4 separate regions of the Homo sapiens genome follow, and regions 1, 2 and 3 are each linked to region 4. Evidence: promoter capture Hi-C in human tissues and cell types (Jung and others, 2019). All regions are on one chromosome and are shown on one strand. The core of a region is centred on a gene start or on the middle of the fragment in contact, and the rest is flanking DNA. Distances in the headings are between cores, read along the strand shown. Region 1 overlaps LOC105375187 (a long non-coding RNA gene). Region 2 has its middle 21 kb from the start of CCDC126. Region 3 has its middle 28 kb from the start of TRA2A. Region 4 holds the start of FAM221A (family with sequence similarity 221 member A).

Region 1 (3,215 bases), core at 712-3,211, 87 kb before region 4:
CCTGACCTCGTGATCCGCCCGCCTCGGCCTCCCAAAGTGCTGGGATTACAGGTGTGAGCCACCGCGCCCGGCCAGCTCTTTTTCTTTTTCTTTTCTTTTCTTTCTTTCTTTTTTGAGACAGTGTCTTGCTCTGTCGTACAGGCTGGAGTGCAGTGGCGTGATCTCTGCTTACTGCAACCTTGGCTTCAGGCATGCATCAGCACATTGGGCTAGTTTTTGTATTTTTAGTAGAGACAGGGTTTCGCCATGTTGCCCAGGCTGGTCTTGAACTCCCGGCCTCAAGTGATTTGCCCACCTCGGCCTCCCAAAATGCTGGGATTACAGGTGTGAGCCACCGTGCTCGGCCTGAACTCTTTTTCTTAATGATTATAGTTCTTTATATATTCTAGATACAAGACCTTTCTTGGTTATACATGTTGCAAATTTCTTTCTTTCTCTCTCTCTTTCTTTTTGATGGAGTTTCGCTCTTATCACCCAGGCTGGAGTACAATGGCGCGACCTCGGCTTACTGCAACCTTCGCCTCCCGGGTTCAAGCAATTCTCCTGCCTCAGCCTTCTGAGTAGCTGGGATTACAGGTGCCCGCCACCACACCCGGTTAATTTCTGTATTTTTAGTAGAGACAGGCTTTCACTATGTTGTCCAGGCTGGTCTCAAACTCCTGGCCTCAGGTGATCCACCCGCTTTGGCCTCCCAAAATGCTGGGGTTATAGGAGTGAGCCACTGCATCTGGCCCATATTGTAAATTTCTTAATCATCTGTGAGGCTTGCCTTTTAACTCTTTTAATGGTGTAATTTGATAAAACCAAGTCTTAATGTTTTTTTTTGTTTTTGTTTTGTTTTGTTTTGTTTTGTTTTGTTTTGAGACAGAATCTCGCTCAGTCACCAGGTTGGAGTGCAATGGCGCGATCTCAGCTCACTGCAACCTCTGCCTCCCGGGTTCAAGCAATTCTCCTGCCTTAGCCTCCTGAGTAGCTGGGATTACAGGCATGCACCACCTTGCCCAGCTAATTTTTGTATTTTTGTAGAGATGGGGTTTCACCATGTTGGCCAGCTGGTCTTGAACTCCTGACCTCAGGTGATCCGCCTGCCTCAGCCTCCCTAAATGCTGGGATTACAGGCGTGAGCCATTGAGCCTGGCTGTCTTAATGTTAATGTGGTCAAATTTACCTATTTTCCTATTATAGGTAGTGCTTTTTGGATTCGTTTAAAAAGTCTGTCCCCTTACCCTTGAGATCAATATACTGTTTTATTATCTTTAAAAACAATAAAAGCATTATTTCTTTTTTTTCCTTCTCACTTTAAAGTCTGCAGATAGATAGCTTCATTCTTCTGCCTTTAAAATTTATGTTTCAGCTGGGCATCATGACTCACTCCTGTAATCCAGCACTTTGGGAGGCCGAGGCAGGAGTTTGAGACCAGCCTGGACAACACAGCAAGATCCCGTCTCTTAAAAAAAATTACTTGGGCTTGGTGGCACATGCTGGTAGTCCTAGCTGCTTGGGAGGGTTGCTTGAGCCCGGGAGTTTGAGGCTGCAGTAAGCTATGATCACAGCACTACACTTCAGTCTGGGCAACAAAGCGAGACCCTGTCTCTTAAAAATAAAAAAAGTGTCTGTTAGTTACCTGAAATTGACTTTTGTGTATAATGTGAAGAGTCCAATTTCATTTCTTTTCCAAATAGAGCACTATTTGTTCCAGTGCCATTCAATCATTGAAAAGTGTTCTTTAGGTGTTGCTTTGCATTGCCAGGCAGTCTCAAACTCCTGGGCCCAAGTGATCCTCCTGTCTCAGCCTCCCAAATAGCTGGGGCTACAGGTGTGCACCACCACACCCAGGTCACTGGGCTCTCTATTCTGTATTACTGGTAGATTTGTCTATTTTTGATCTCCTTCCACACTGCCTTAATTACTATGAAAGTTGACAGTATCAAAATGGAATCATTTGTGTAAAAATTCCCCAAAGACCCTGACAAATACAGCCAGGAAACCTAAGAAGAGAGCATTCTCACACTTGCATGCCTGATAACAAAATTACCACAGAAGACTCTGGAAAATCACAACATTAACAATGGTCATTGTAACCTTACACAAAACGTACTTCTATGAGGATATCTGCTCAGCAATTGTCTGTCTAACCTCAGACTCGAGCCACCCTTGTTATTATAGATTCTTGTAGCCAAGGATAATTTCAAAACAATTATGTAATGCCCCTAATTTTTCCTGTAAAAACCTTTGTCTTCCTTTACCTCCTTGAATACACACATAGTTTACTGTGGCATGTGTATTCCCATTGCAATGCCCTATTCCCAAATAAACATATTTTTCTTTTAGAGAGCCTCTCTCTGTTGTTTAGGTTGACACAAATGGTGCCAGAAACAGGACCTGAAAAAAGATCACTATCACAAGGAACTGACAGTTCTTGAATCTGGTGCAGTACTCATTTCAGTTCTCTGCTTCCATGGCTCACTTTTTCTGCCCTGATGAGTCTTCTCTAAGACCACGCCCCCTTCTTTATGGTAGAAGCTCTTGACTTTATTTGGGGTCTGATTTGAATAAGGCAGCCCTAAATAAAGGACTTTACATCCCTCCTGGGATTAAACAAAGACTTTTTGTATTTTCTGGGAAGTCTTTTCTGATTTCTACAGAATTTCCATTCTGTCTGTGAGGCATATCTTTTCTGATGAATTTACTTTTGGTCTGTGTGCCTACTTTAATATTTTGTCTGATCCACATGCCTGGGTTAAAATTTTTATGAACTTTCTTGGTTTTATTTTGGTTACATGCAACTTTTTTGTTGTTCTTTTCCCTTTATGTTGCTCTTTTCCCTTGCTTGTTTCTGAAAATCTTCTGAGAGCAAAAATAAACATTCTTTTAGAATGGACACATTCTAAATGATGGACACAGGATGGCTAAGTAAAAGCCACTAGAGTGGTTGCTACCATCAAATACATTGGTCCAAACTTATGACATTCTGACAAGATTGATAATTTTCTTTGCTCTTGAGAGATTGATAAGTAATGTAATGGGGTTTTCTTAATTTTTCTTTCTTTCTTTTTTTTTTTAAGAAACAGAGTCTCACTCTGTCTCCCTGGCTGGAGTTCAGTGATGCAATCATAGATCATTGCAGCCTTGAACCCCTAGGCTCAAGTAGCTAGGACTACAGGTACACGCCACCATGCCCAGCTACTTTTTTTGTTTTGTTTTGTTTTGAAGAG
Region 2 (3,614 bases), core at 1,061-3,560, 100 kb before region 4:
TTTCCCTCCTTTGGTAGCTTAGCAGGGAGCTGGCTCATCAGGACTGAGCCTGTCTGCAGAGGGACAGCTAGGCCACTGGCTGATGCTAATGTTCCCAGGAGGTAGAGATTCTTCAGGGCTGTTCCCAAGACCCTTGATGTGTCACTCTACACTTGGTGTTCTTCCTGGACCTGAGATCCCTTGATACATATATTTTTTTCTTTCTTGGAGAAACTAGGTCGTCCCCACTGTCTTTTTTTTTCTTTTTTTTCTTTTTTTTGAGACGGAGTCTCGCTCTGTCGCCCAGGCTGGAGGGCAGTGGCGCGATCTTGGCTCACTGCAAGCTCTGCCCCTGGGTTCACGCCATTCTCCTGCCTCAGCCTCCCGAGTAGCTGGGACTACAGGCGCCTGCCACCACACCTGGCTAATTTTTTTTTTTTTTTTTTGTATTTTTATTAGAGACCGGGTTTCACCGTGTTAGCCAGGATGGTCTCGATCTCCTGACCTCGTGATCCGCCCGTCTCGGCCTCCCGAAGTGCTGGGATTACAGGCGTGAGCCACCCCCACTCCCGTTTAGTTCAAAAATTTTTAAGTATGTAACAGTGAGGAGGCAAGGTCCTGTCTTCTCGACTGCTGTTCATGGCATGTCTAGTCTTTTGCCTTAGGCTGGCCCCAGAGACTTTGGCCAAGTTGCATTCAGAACATGTAGGCCAGGGCCAGGCATGGTGATTCATGCCTGTAATCCCAGCACTTTGGGAGACCCAGGTGGGTGGATCACTGGAGGTCAGGGGTTCGAGACCAGCCTGGCCAACATGGTGAAACCTCATCTCTACTAAGCATACAAGAATTAGGTGGGCATGGTGGTGCATGCCTGTAATCCCAGCTACCTGGGAGGCTGAGTCAGGAGAATTGCTTGAACCCAGGAGGTAGAGGTTGCAGTGAGCCGAGATCGTGCCACTGCACTCTAGCCTGGGTGACAGAGTGAGACTCTGTCTCAAAATAAAACAAAAACATCTAGGCCAGGCCTGTGTTATGAAATAGCAAGAGTTCAGGGGACTGTGTGTGCTCTACCAGTAAATCCTGTTATAGATGCACATATGGCACTAGTAGTGTGTGTCTGTAACTTTGTGATATCCTCCACCCCAAGCACAATAAAGCCTACAATAAAGGCCTTGCTAAAATAAAGTATACATGCTATAATTTTAGCCAAAAATCCAGAAACATTCTTGAAATCACTTATGCCACTTCGAATTAGTTGGATGTTAATCAGCCAATAGCAATGATATTCTCTGGATCAAATCAAAGACTAAATACACTATTCTTTTTTTTTTTTTCTTTTCTTGACACAGGGTCTCGCTCTGTCACCCAGACTGGAATGCAGTGGCACGGTTTTAGCTCACTACAGTCTCCACCGCCAGGTTCAGGCGATTCTCATGCCTCAGCCTCCCCAGTAGCAGGGATTACAGGTGCATGCCAGAATGCCCAGCTAATTTTTGTATTTTTAGTAGAGACAGGGTTTCGCCATGTTGGCCAGGCTGGTCTCGAACTCCTGGCTTCAAGTGATCCACCTGCCTTGGCCTCCCAAAGTGCTGGGATTACAGGCCACCGTGCCTGGCCTAAATATAGTATTCTTGATCTGCCCAAACACTGAACACCCTGATGAAGTATAAACAAAATCACTTTTGAACACAGGAGGAAAATGTTTATTAAATGTTGTTAACGTAATTGGATTTAATTTAGACAAGATATACAATGCACTAGAAAAGTTAAACAAAACAAAAGAAGATCTTTAAGCAAAGAGCAATTTGTGAGCTTTGTGGGAGAATGAAATTTATTTTGAAGTTGCACTAGTCACAGTTATTTGGTATTACTATTTCTAATGTCATTAATTCCTATTCATTGCTATTACTAATGTTAGCAAAGCTTTAGCAAAAAACCTTACATATCCAAGTTTCACTTTTGAGAAAATATTTTTTAAATTTTAGAGAAAATAGTTCTTTTTTTTCTGAGTCTGTTTCTAGGGAAGAGAAAATAGTTCTAAAACAAAGTATACTGAACAAGATGACATTCAAATAAAATATGCAGAAATTAGAGCAAAGAAACAGAAAAGTTTATATAAATTTCATAAATGAGATGATTCATGTACAAATAACCATCAAACATTTCCATAAAGCATGCTTTCTAGATATGATAGATTGAAGAGACATTTAAACAAATTGATTAGCATACTCCCAATTTTAGTTTTTTTTGTAATGCCCCAGCATTAAAAACTTTGAAACAACTTAATAAATATTCTCCTTCTTTTTTTTTTTTCTGAGACAGAGTCTCACTCTGTTGCCCAGGCTGTAGTACAGTGATGCGGTCTTAGCTCACAGCAACCTCCACCTTCTGGGTTCAAATGATTCTCCTGCCTCAGCCTCCTGAGTAGCTGGGACTACAGGAACAAGCCACCATTCCTGGCTAATTTTTGTATTTTTGGTAGAGATGGGGTTTCACCATGTTGGCCAGGCTGGTCTTGAACTGACCTCAGGTGATCCACCCGCCTCAGCCCCCCAAAGTGTTGGGATTACAGGTGTGAGCCATCATGCCCGGCCAGAATTTAATATTCTATGGATATATTGTTTTTAAAGAGATAATAGGCCAGGCATGGTGCTTCACGCCTGTAATCCCAGCACTTTGAAGGCCCAAGGTGGGAAGATTGCTTGAGGCCAGGAGTTCGAGACCAGCCTCGGCAAAATAGCCAGACCTCCGTCTCTAATTTTTTTAAAAAATAAGAAAAAGAAAATTGCAATATAACTGAAAGCAATTTGTATAGTAAAATTAAAATATTTGCAATATTTTTATTATAATAATTTATTATATGCATTACAATAAACAATTAATGGCATCATTTTATTGTCATGGTATATGATGCTAGAGGTAAGACTAGTGCTTACTTTAGGGCCGGGTACAGTGGCTCACATCTGTAATCCCAGCACTTTGGGAGACCGAGGTGGGTGAATTACTTGAATCCACGAGTTTGAGATCAGCCTGGGCAATATGGCCAAACGTTGTTTCTACAAAAAATACAAAGCTGAAGTGGGAGGACGACTTGAGTCCAGGAGGCAGAGGTTGCAGTGAGCTCAGAAAGCACCATTGCACTCCAACGTGGACTACAGAGACCCTGTCTCCAAAAAAAAAAAAAAAAGAATACTGCTTACTTTGTGGGGTACAGAAAGAATAGAAAGGGGCCTGAGAGATCTTACTGGGGAGCTGATCTATTTCTTGATCTGGGTGGTGGGTTTCATGGGCATAAACATGCACAAAGGTATTGAGTTATACACTTAAGCTTTGTGCACTTTACTGTATACAGGTTGTACACCTCAATGTGAATGTTTAAAAATTCATGGTTCTTTTTTTTTTTTTTTTGAGATGGAGTCTTGCTTTGTCGCCCACGCTGGAGTGCAATGGCACAATCTCAGCTCACTGCAACCTCTGCCTCCCGGGTTCAAGCGATTCTTCTGCCTCAGCCTCCCGAGTAGCTGGGATTACATGCATGTGCCACCACGCCCGGCTAATTTTTGTATTTTTAGTAGAAACGGGATTTCACCATGTTGGCCAGGCTGGTCTCCAACTCCTGATGTCAGGTGATCCAC
Region 3 (3,304 bases), core at 615-3,114, 120 kb before region 4:
CTTTTACATATTAATTATTAATTTAATAAGTAATTATTATTGAAGAGACTGTCTAATAATATTAATATTAATAAATTTAATATTTATTTTTAATTTAATTTAGTTTGTTAGTATTTTGTTGAGGATTGTTGACTATGTTTCTCAGGGGTACTAGAATATAGTTTTCTTTTGTTATTGTGTCTTCATTAGGTTTTGGTATCAGGGTAAAGCTGGCCTCACAGAAGAAGCAGTACCTTCTTATTAATTTTCTGGAATAGGTCTGAATAGAATTGGTATTATTTCTTTACAAGCTTGGTAGAATATAGCAGTGAAGGCATCTGGTCCTGGGCTTTTCTTTATTGGCAGACTTTTTATTATGGCTTTAATCTTGTTACTTGTTATTGGTCTGTTTAAGTTTTCTATTTCTTCATGATTTGATCCTGGTAGTTTGTATGTGTCCAGGAATATATATATATATTCCTAAGTTGTCCAATTTGTTAGCATGCTGTTGTTTATAACAGTCTTTAATAATCCTTTATGTTTCTGTGGCATCAGTTGTAATGTATTCTTTCTCACCTCAGATTTCATTCATTTTATTTTTATTTATTTGTTTATTTTATTATTATTTTTTAGAGATGGGGTCTTGCTATGCTGCCCAGGCTGGCCTTGAACTTATGGGCTCAAGTGATCCTCCTGCATCAGCCTACCAAGTAGATGGGATGCATGCACCACCACATCTGGCTATTTTTCTTTAATTGATACTAATATTTGTACATATTTATGATGTAACTGATATTTTGATATATGCATAGAATGTGTAATGATCAAGTTAGGGTACTTAAGATATCCTTCACATCAAACATTGATCATTTCTTTGTGTTGGGAACATTTCAAATCTTCCCTTCTTGCAATTTTGAAATATACAATATATTGTTGTTAAACATAGTCACCCTACTGGGCTATTGAACACTACCTACTACCTAACTGTATGTTTGTACCATAACTTATTTTTTTCCTTTTTGAGATGGATTCTCACTCTGTCCCCCAGGCTGGAGTGCAGTGGTACCATCTTGGCTCACTCCAAACCCTGCCTCCTGGATTCAAGCGATTCTCCTGCCTCAGCCTCTGAGTAGCTGAGATTACAGTCGCCTGCCACCACACCCAGCTAATTTTTGTATTTTTAGTAGAGATGGGGTTTCACCATGTTGGCCCGGCTGGTCTAGAACTCCTGACCTCAAGTGATCCACCCACCTCGGCCTCCCAAAGTGCTGGGATTACAGGTGTGAGCCACCATGCCTGGTGTGTTATTTTTTTTTCTTTTCAATAATAACCATTATAACTGGGGTAAGATGTTGTCTTATTATGGTTTTGATTTGTATTTTCCTGATGATAAGTGATGTTGACTTTTTTTTTTTTTTTTTTTTTTGAGGCAGGATCTCACCCAGGCTGGACTGCAGTGGTGCGATGAAAGCTTACTGCAACCTCGACCTCCCACCTCAGCCTCCTAACTGGCTGGGACTACAGGCATGCATCATTACATCCAGCTAATTTTTAAATTTTTTGTAGAGATGGGTCTCACCATGCTGCCCAGGCTTATCTCAAGCTCCCAGCCTCAAGCAGTCCTCCCAACTCAGCCTCCCAAAGTGCTGGGATTACAGGTGTGAGCCACCACACCTGGTCTTATAATGTTTACATTGATTTGCATATGTTGAACCATTGTTGCATCAGCTGGATGAATCCCATGTGATCATGGTATCTGTCTAAATATCTTTTTAACGTGTTTTTGGATTCAATATGATAATATTTTGTTGAGGATTGTTGACTCTATGTTTATCAGAGATCTCAGCCCATAGTCTTTTTTTGTGATGTCCTTGTCTGGTTTTGGTATCAGGGTTATGCTGATCTGACAGGATGAGTTAAAAAGTACCTCCTTCTCTTAGTTTCTTTGGAATAGTTTGGGAAGAATTGGCGTACATTGTTCTGTATACGATTGATACGATTCAGCAGCAATGCCATCTGGTCCTGGACTTTTCTTTGTCGGGAGTTTTTTTAAATTACTGATTCAATCTCATTCCTCATTATTAGTCTGTTTAGGTTTTCTATTTCTTTGTAGTTCAATCTTCGTGGTTGTGTGTCCAAAAATTTTCCATCTCCTTCCATTTCTTAGCATATAGTGGCTTGTTATAGTCTCTAATAATCTTTTGTGTATGTGTGGAATCAGTTGTAATGTCTCCTTTTTTCCCCCAATTTTGATTATTTAGGTCTTCTTCCTTTTTTTTCTTGATTAGTCTAGCCAGGTTTATCAATTTTGTATATCTTTTCAAAAAACCAACGTTTTCTTTCATTGATCCTTTGTATTGTTTTTAAGTCTCTATTTCATTTAATTCTGCTATTTTTTATAGCTTTTGCTTATTTTATTCAATATTATTTGAACTTAATCATTCACAAATTTAACCTATCCTTAAAAGTAGGCATTACTTATTTTAGTATAATCCAATTTGCATAGAAAACAAACCCTTTACATATTCACACTTAGGAAGTACACAGAAAAAAACATGAAAGAATATACATTATTAAATTCAAACACTGGGAACCTTTGGGAGGGTAATAAAGGGAGATCATTTTTTATCCCATTCTATATATTTGAATTTTTACAACGTGTATTTATGGATTACTCACATAAATTTTTTTAAAGAGGTATAATGAGATCCAATTAAACCACACTTTCTAGCCATTATTTGCATATTAATCAAGACTTCTATTATTTCAAGTAGCTCTTAAAGTTTGTGAAATGCTTTCTAATTTCCCCCTCAATTTTGCTTGCTCTAGTCATTTATTTAGTAAACCCTCTTCCTCACTCATAAGTTAATTCCAGTTTTGTCAGAAGTACAACTTAAAGTGGCTCCAGGCTACAGGTAATCCTGTTCAAAATTCAGGAACTAAAGAAATTTGGATGGGTTTTTGGAACTAAAAAAATGTTTAGATAATGTGTTCTATATCCAAACTCATAAATGAATGTATGTGGTATCAAGGAATACTTCGTATTGCTATTTGGGGACTTTTGCATTAATGTTGCCTTTAGGGAAGTGGTTTATAATTCTTGGGTGCCCACTGGAAAAATCTGTGGAACTTTAAAAAAATACATAGATGCTTAGGTTCCATCTTTAAAGATTTTGAGTCTGTGGTTGTAAGGGAAGCAAATATTCTTTAGAAATGCTTTTTCCTAAGAAGAAGAAGAAGAATAAGAAAAAAAGAAATGCTTTTTCCTAAATCTCGATCAGTGATTATATAAATATATGTGTAAAAAAATGACATTACCCAGAGA
Region 4 (3,516 bases), core at 572-3,071:
TCAATTTAGCTACACATTGGGAGGAAGTTATAGTTTGATTATACCTTTTTATTAAAGCAGAGGTGAGTACCATATACAGTATTTTAATTTGCAAATCTGTCAGCTTTATGTAAGGTCAGGATAACATTTTCTAGTTTGTTCCATACTCTTATTCGTCACGCTCAATATTTTTGTTGACTTCTTTGGCCAGAAGAGTTTACTGCTCCAGCATCTTCCTGGAAGAGTCCACAATTGGGCTAAATCTATTTTAACCATTTCCCTCTAGATTTTTAAATTGTACTTGCCTACACAGACATTCCCCTGCCACTTTTCTGTAAGCCTGCAGAGCCTGGCATTTTCTTCTATTTTTCTTTGTTAGTTCAGTTGCTGCCTAAAAGCAAGACTAGGCTCTCATAGAGGTAGAATGGGGCTGGGCGTGGTGGCTCACGCCTGTAATCCCAGCACTTTGGGAGGCTGAGGCGGGCAAATCACGAGGTCAGGAGATCAAGACCAGCCTGGCCAACATGGTGAAACCCTGTCTCTACTAAAAATACACACACACACACACACACAAAAGCCAGGCGTGGTGGCTAGTGCCTGTAATCCCAGCTACTCAGGAGGCTGAGGCAGGAGAATTGCTTGAACCTAGGAGGCAGAGATTGCAGTGAGTCGAGATCCCGCCACTGCACTCCAGCCTTGGAGACGGAGCAAGACCCCATCTGGGAGGTGTCGGGTGGAAGAGGTAAAATGGACAGCAGCAAACCACACGTGTGATAGGAGAGAATACTGAGCTGAGATCAGTTTCCTAAAATATGAATCCGATTTCAGGATCACTCATTTATCTGACTGTCAAGAACGCCTCTGAACAGGAGGAAGACTTTGGGGAGAGGGTGGGGTTTGTTGAAAGGGTACCGAGAAGGGAGGTGGGTGGTACCCAAACAATTTGTTTACATAATGTTTTATGGACCTGAAATATGTAGAACAGTACTTTGAAACTAAAGTACTGTACTGAAGTTTAATTATTTTTCTTATTGTTTGCATATTCTCCCTCCCAGATACTTTACAGAGGGCGCTAAAGCTGATCCCCTGGGAGCTTCAGAGTTTAATGACTTCGCCTGAAGATTTCCTATTCTTTTCCACAACGTGCTAAGTCAAATTATGGCCAAATTACCAATCGCATGGTAATTCAGCTTCTAAATATATTTTGCAGAGTGTTTCCAAAAGTTAAAAAACAACAACAAAACTTCACCTAAATTGTTTTTACTTGCTTCACCTTAAATCAGTTATTCGGTTCCTTTGAAGAACATGTAGCTTTAGCAACCCCCAAAGTGAACCCAGATACCCAGGACTACTGATTGTTACATCAGAGTTTTTGAAAACGCCAATACTGGAAACAGGCCGACAGTTAAGGAGAGGCAGGCCTCAAACTAAAGCAGAACCTTCTCAAAACTACTTATATTTCAAGAGATGGATTAAGCGAAAAGAGCTGTACAAAGAAATAAGCCATTTTCTATGCGCCTGTTATATGCAAGGCACTGCACTCCCTTGTCACTTGTTAATTTACAAGAAGACTCGCCGGTCCAGGGAAGGGAGAGGGGAATAGGTGCAAGGTTTGTGGAGGGCGGCAAACTGCACTCCATGTGGCGCGAGGCTGCGCTTGCGGAGATCCGGGTTCTGGTGCCTGGCGCCGGCAGCCAGTAGGGGCGCGCGTCCTGCGCAGTTGCCGCGCGCGGCCTCCTCGGGCTTCAGGCCGGGCCAATCAGGAGGCGGGCGGGAGGGGGCGCGGTACCGGGAGGGAACGGGGCGGGTCGGGCTTCGAGGTCAGCTGGTCCGCAGGGAAGCCTTTGGCTTCCCCACCGGCAATGGAGCGGTTGACGTTGCCTCTCGGCGGCGCGGCGGCGGTGGACGAGTACCTGGAGTACCGGAGGTGAGGCTGTGGCTCCGGGCCTGCCCCCCCGCCGCTCCGAGGGGCCAGGATCCCTGGGCTGGGGGCGCGAGCAGGGGCCCGGCGGGCGTCCGCGGGGGTTCCCGGAATCTGTGCCTGGGCTGTTGGGGGAGGCCTAGATGAATTCCAGTTTAGTCTTTGCCTAATTAAATATTGTAGGGCCACGCGGTTCTATGCAGTGATGAGTCTTCCAATAACATTTAAGAGGCCCCTCTGCTCCCTTCCAAGAAGGATGACTAACTCTAGATTGATACAGAGGTCCAGCTGTTTTTTAAATGGCCATTGAAAACAGGCACATCGAGTACTCGGGGCTATAGAAGTTAGCATACATCAAATTAACCCAGTAATTGAGTCAACCGTGAACTTCTGAACGCGCTCCCCACCCCGAGGTGCTGGTTTTAGGAGAAAGGCACCGACTGGTGTTTGGTATTCTGGAGAAACCCCTTCCGAAACTGGAAACGGAGTCGCTCCTTTGGCCTGAGGACGCGGTTCATTGTCCTGGATCCTGACCGAGGCTGGTGCACCTGCAGCGACGCGCTCTTTTTCCGCTTCCTGGGGTTTTTGATCGTCCGGAATCTGGGCGGATGGGAAGTCCTGGAGAGGACCGCCTGAGGACGCGGAGTTGGGGCGGGAGGATGTGTGTGTACAAGCGGAGGGGAGACGCTCCAGGCTCCGCCAGGGAGGCCGGAGCGAGCGACAGGGGCTCCTCTGCGGCATCGTGGGTGGCCCAGATGACCCAGAGGTGTGCGCGCAGACGGCCCCCCAGCTGACTGTTCTCCCCTGCTCTGACTGCCCTGTTTGTGTAGTTTTGGGTAACCCTTAGAACTGCCTGGATATTCTGAGCCAGAAGAATAAGGGCTAGGAGCTTGATGGGGTCAGTTCCCACGCCCGGTTCAGGGTCAGAACAACCACCATCCCGTCCTCTCCCAGAGCAGAGCCGGCTCCTTTAGCCTCCAGTTCTCCAGAGCTTTTGCCTGGGAGCAAGTTGCTGGAGCTGGTGTTGACTGATAACTTGGATATTTAGATATGTGAATTGTGGGCCTCCAGTTGACTCTTGCCTAGCTCCGAACATGTTAGGGCAGACCTATGTATGTAGTTATTTATTTTATTGAGAAATTATTTAGTTATTTATTTTATTGAGACGGGGTCTGACTCTTTCCCAGGCTGGAGTGCAGTGGCGCGATCTCGGCTCACCGCAATCTCCGCTTCCTGGGTTCAAGTGATTCTCCTGCCTCAGCCTCCCGAGTAGCTGGGACTACAGGCGGCCAGCTAATTTTTGTATTTTCTGTAGAGACGGGATTTCACCACGTTGCCCAGGCTGGTCTTGAACTCCTGGACTCAAGCTATCCACCTGCCTCGGCCTCCTAAAGTGTTGGGATTACAGGCCTGGGCCACCGCGCCCGGCTGGGAAATTATTTTTGCAATCGTAAATAACTTGCAACACTTCCCTCTGAAAGAGATTATCAGGTCCTTTACTGACGTCAGAATTTTAGAAAAGTGGGGAAAACAGGACTTGAGTACCTAGATATGAAAAGGTGGGCTGGGAAGGTGGGGTGGGAAGATGAGTCAAAATATGAGTTTAGAAGGAAACA

Evidence for each region. Contacts are between HindIII fragments. The study calls those that stand out against the background at their distance.
Region 1: a fragment that was not itself captured here is called in contact with the fragment with the promoter of FAM221A in region 4 in 6 of the 25 tissues and cell types used here (H1 embryonic stem cells, aorta, dorsolateral prefrontal cortex and 3 more).
Region 2: a contact is called between a fragment that was not itself captured here and the fragment with the promoter of FAM221A in region 4, in 5 of the 25 tissues and cell types used here (H1 embryonic stem cells, adrenal gland, hippocampus and 2 more).
Region 3: a contact is called between a fragment that was not itself captured here and the fragment with the promoter of FAM221A in region 4, in 3 of the 25 tissues and cell types used here (adrenal gland, neural progenitor cells and thymus).

Annotation. Positions count from the first base shown.
Region 1 is chr7:23,591,445-23,594,659 of GRCh38, forward strand. All of the region lies in intron 1 of LOC105375187 (a long non-coding RNA gene), which reads right to left. Among named protein-coding and RNA genes, the nearest start is that of CCDC126, 4.3 kb to the right of the region's middle. RefSeq lists an enhancer at 2,298-2,347. The HindIII fragment of the contact is 6,372 bases long and covers 1-3,215 here.
Region 2 is chr7:23,574,353-23,577,966 of GRCh38, forward strand. No RefSeq gene overlaps it. Among named protein-coding and RNA genes, the nearest start is that of CCDC126, 21 kb to the right of the region's middle. The HindIII fragment of the contact is 4,271 bases long and covers 176-3,614 here.
Region 3 is chr7:23,558,453-23,561,756 of GRCh38, forward strand. No RefSeq gene overlaps it. Among named protein-coding and RNA genes, the nearest start is that of TRA2A, 28 kb to the left of the region's middle. The HindIII fragment of the contact is 5,117 bases long and covers 1-3,304 here.
Region 4 is chr7:23,678,378-23,681,893 of GRCh38, forward strand. FAM221A (family with sequence similarity 221 member A) reads left to right here and starts at 1,822. Exons shown (of 7, transcript NM_199136.5): 1 at 1,822-1,906. The coding sequence starts at 1,842. RefSeq lists a silencer at 1,756-2,045 and an enhancer at 2,376-2,625. The HindIII fragment of the contact is 14,044 bases long and covers 1-3,516 here.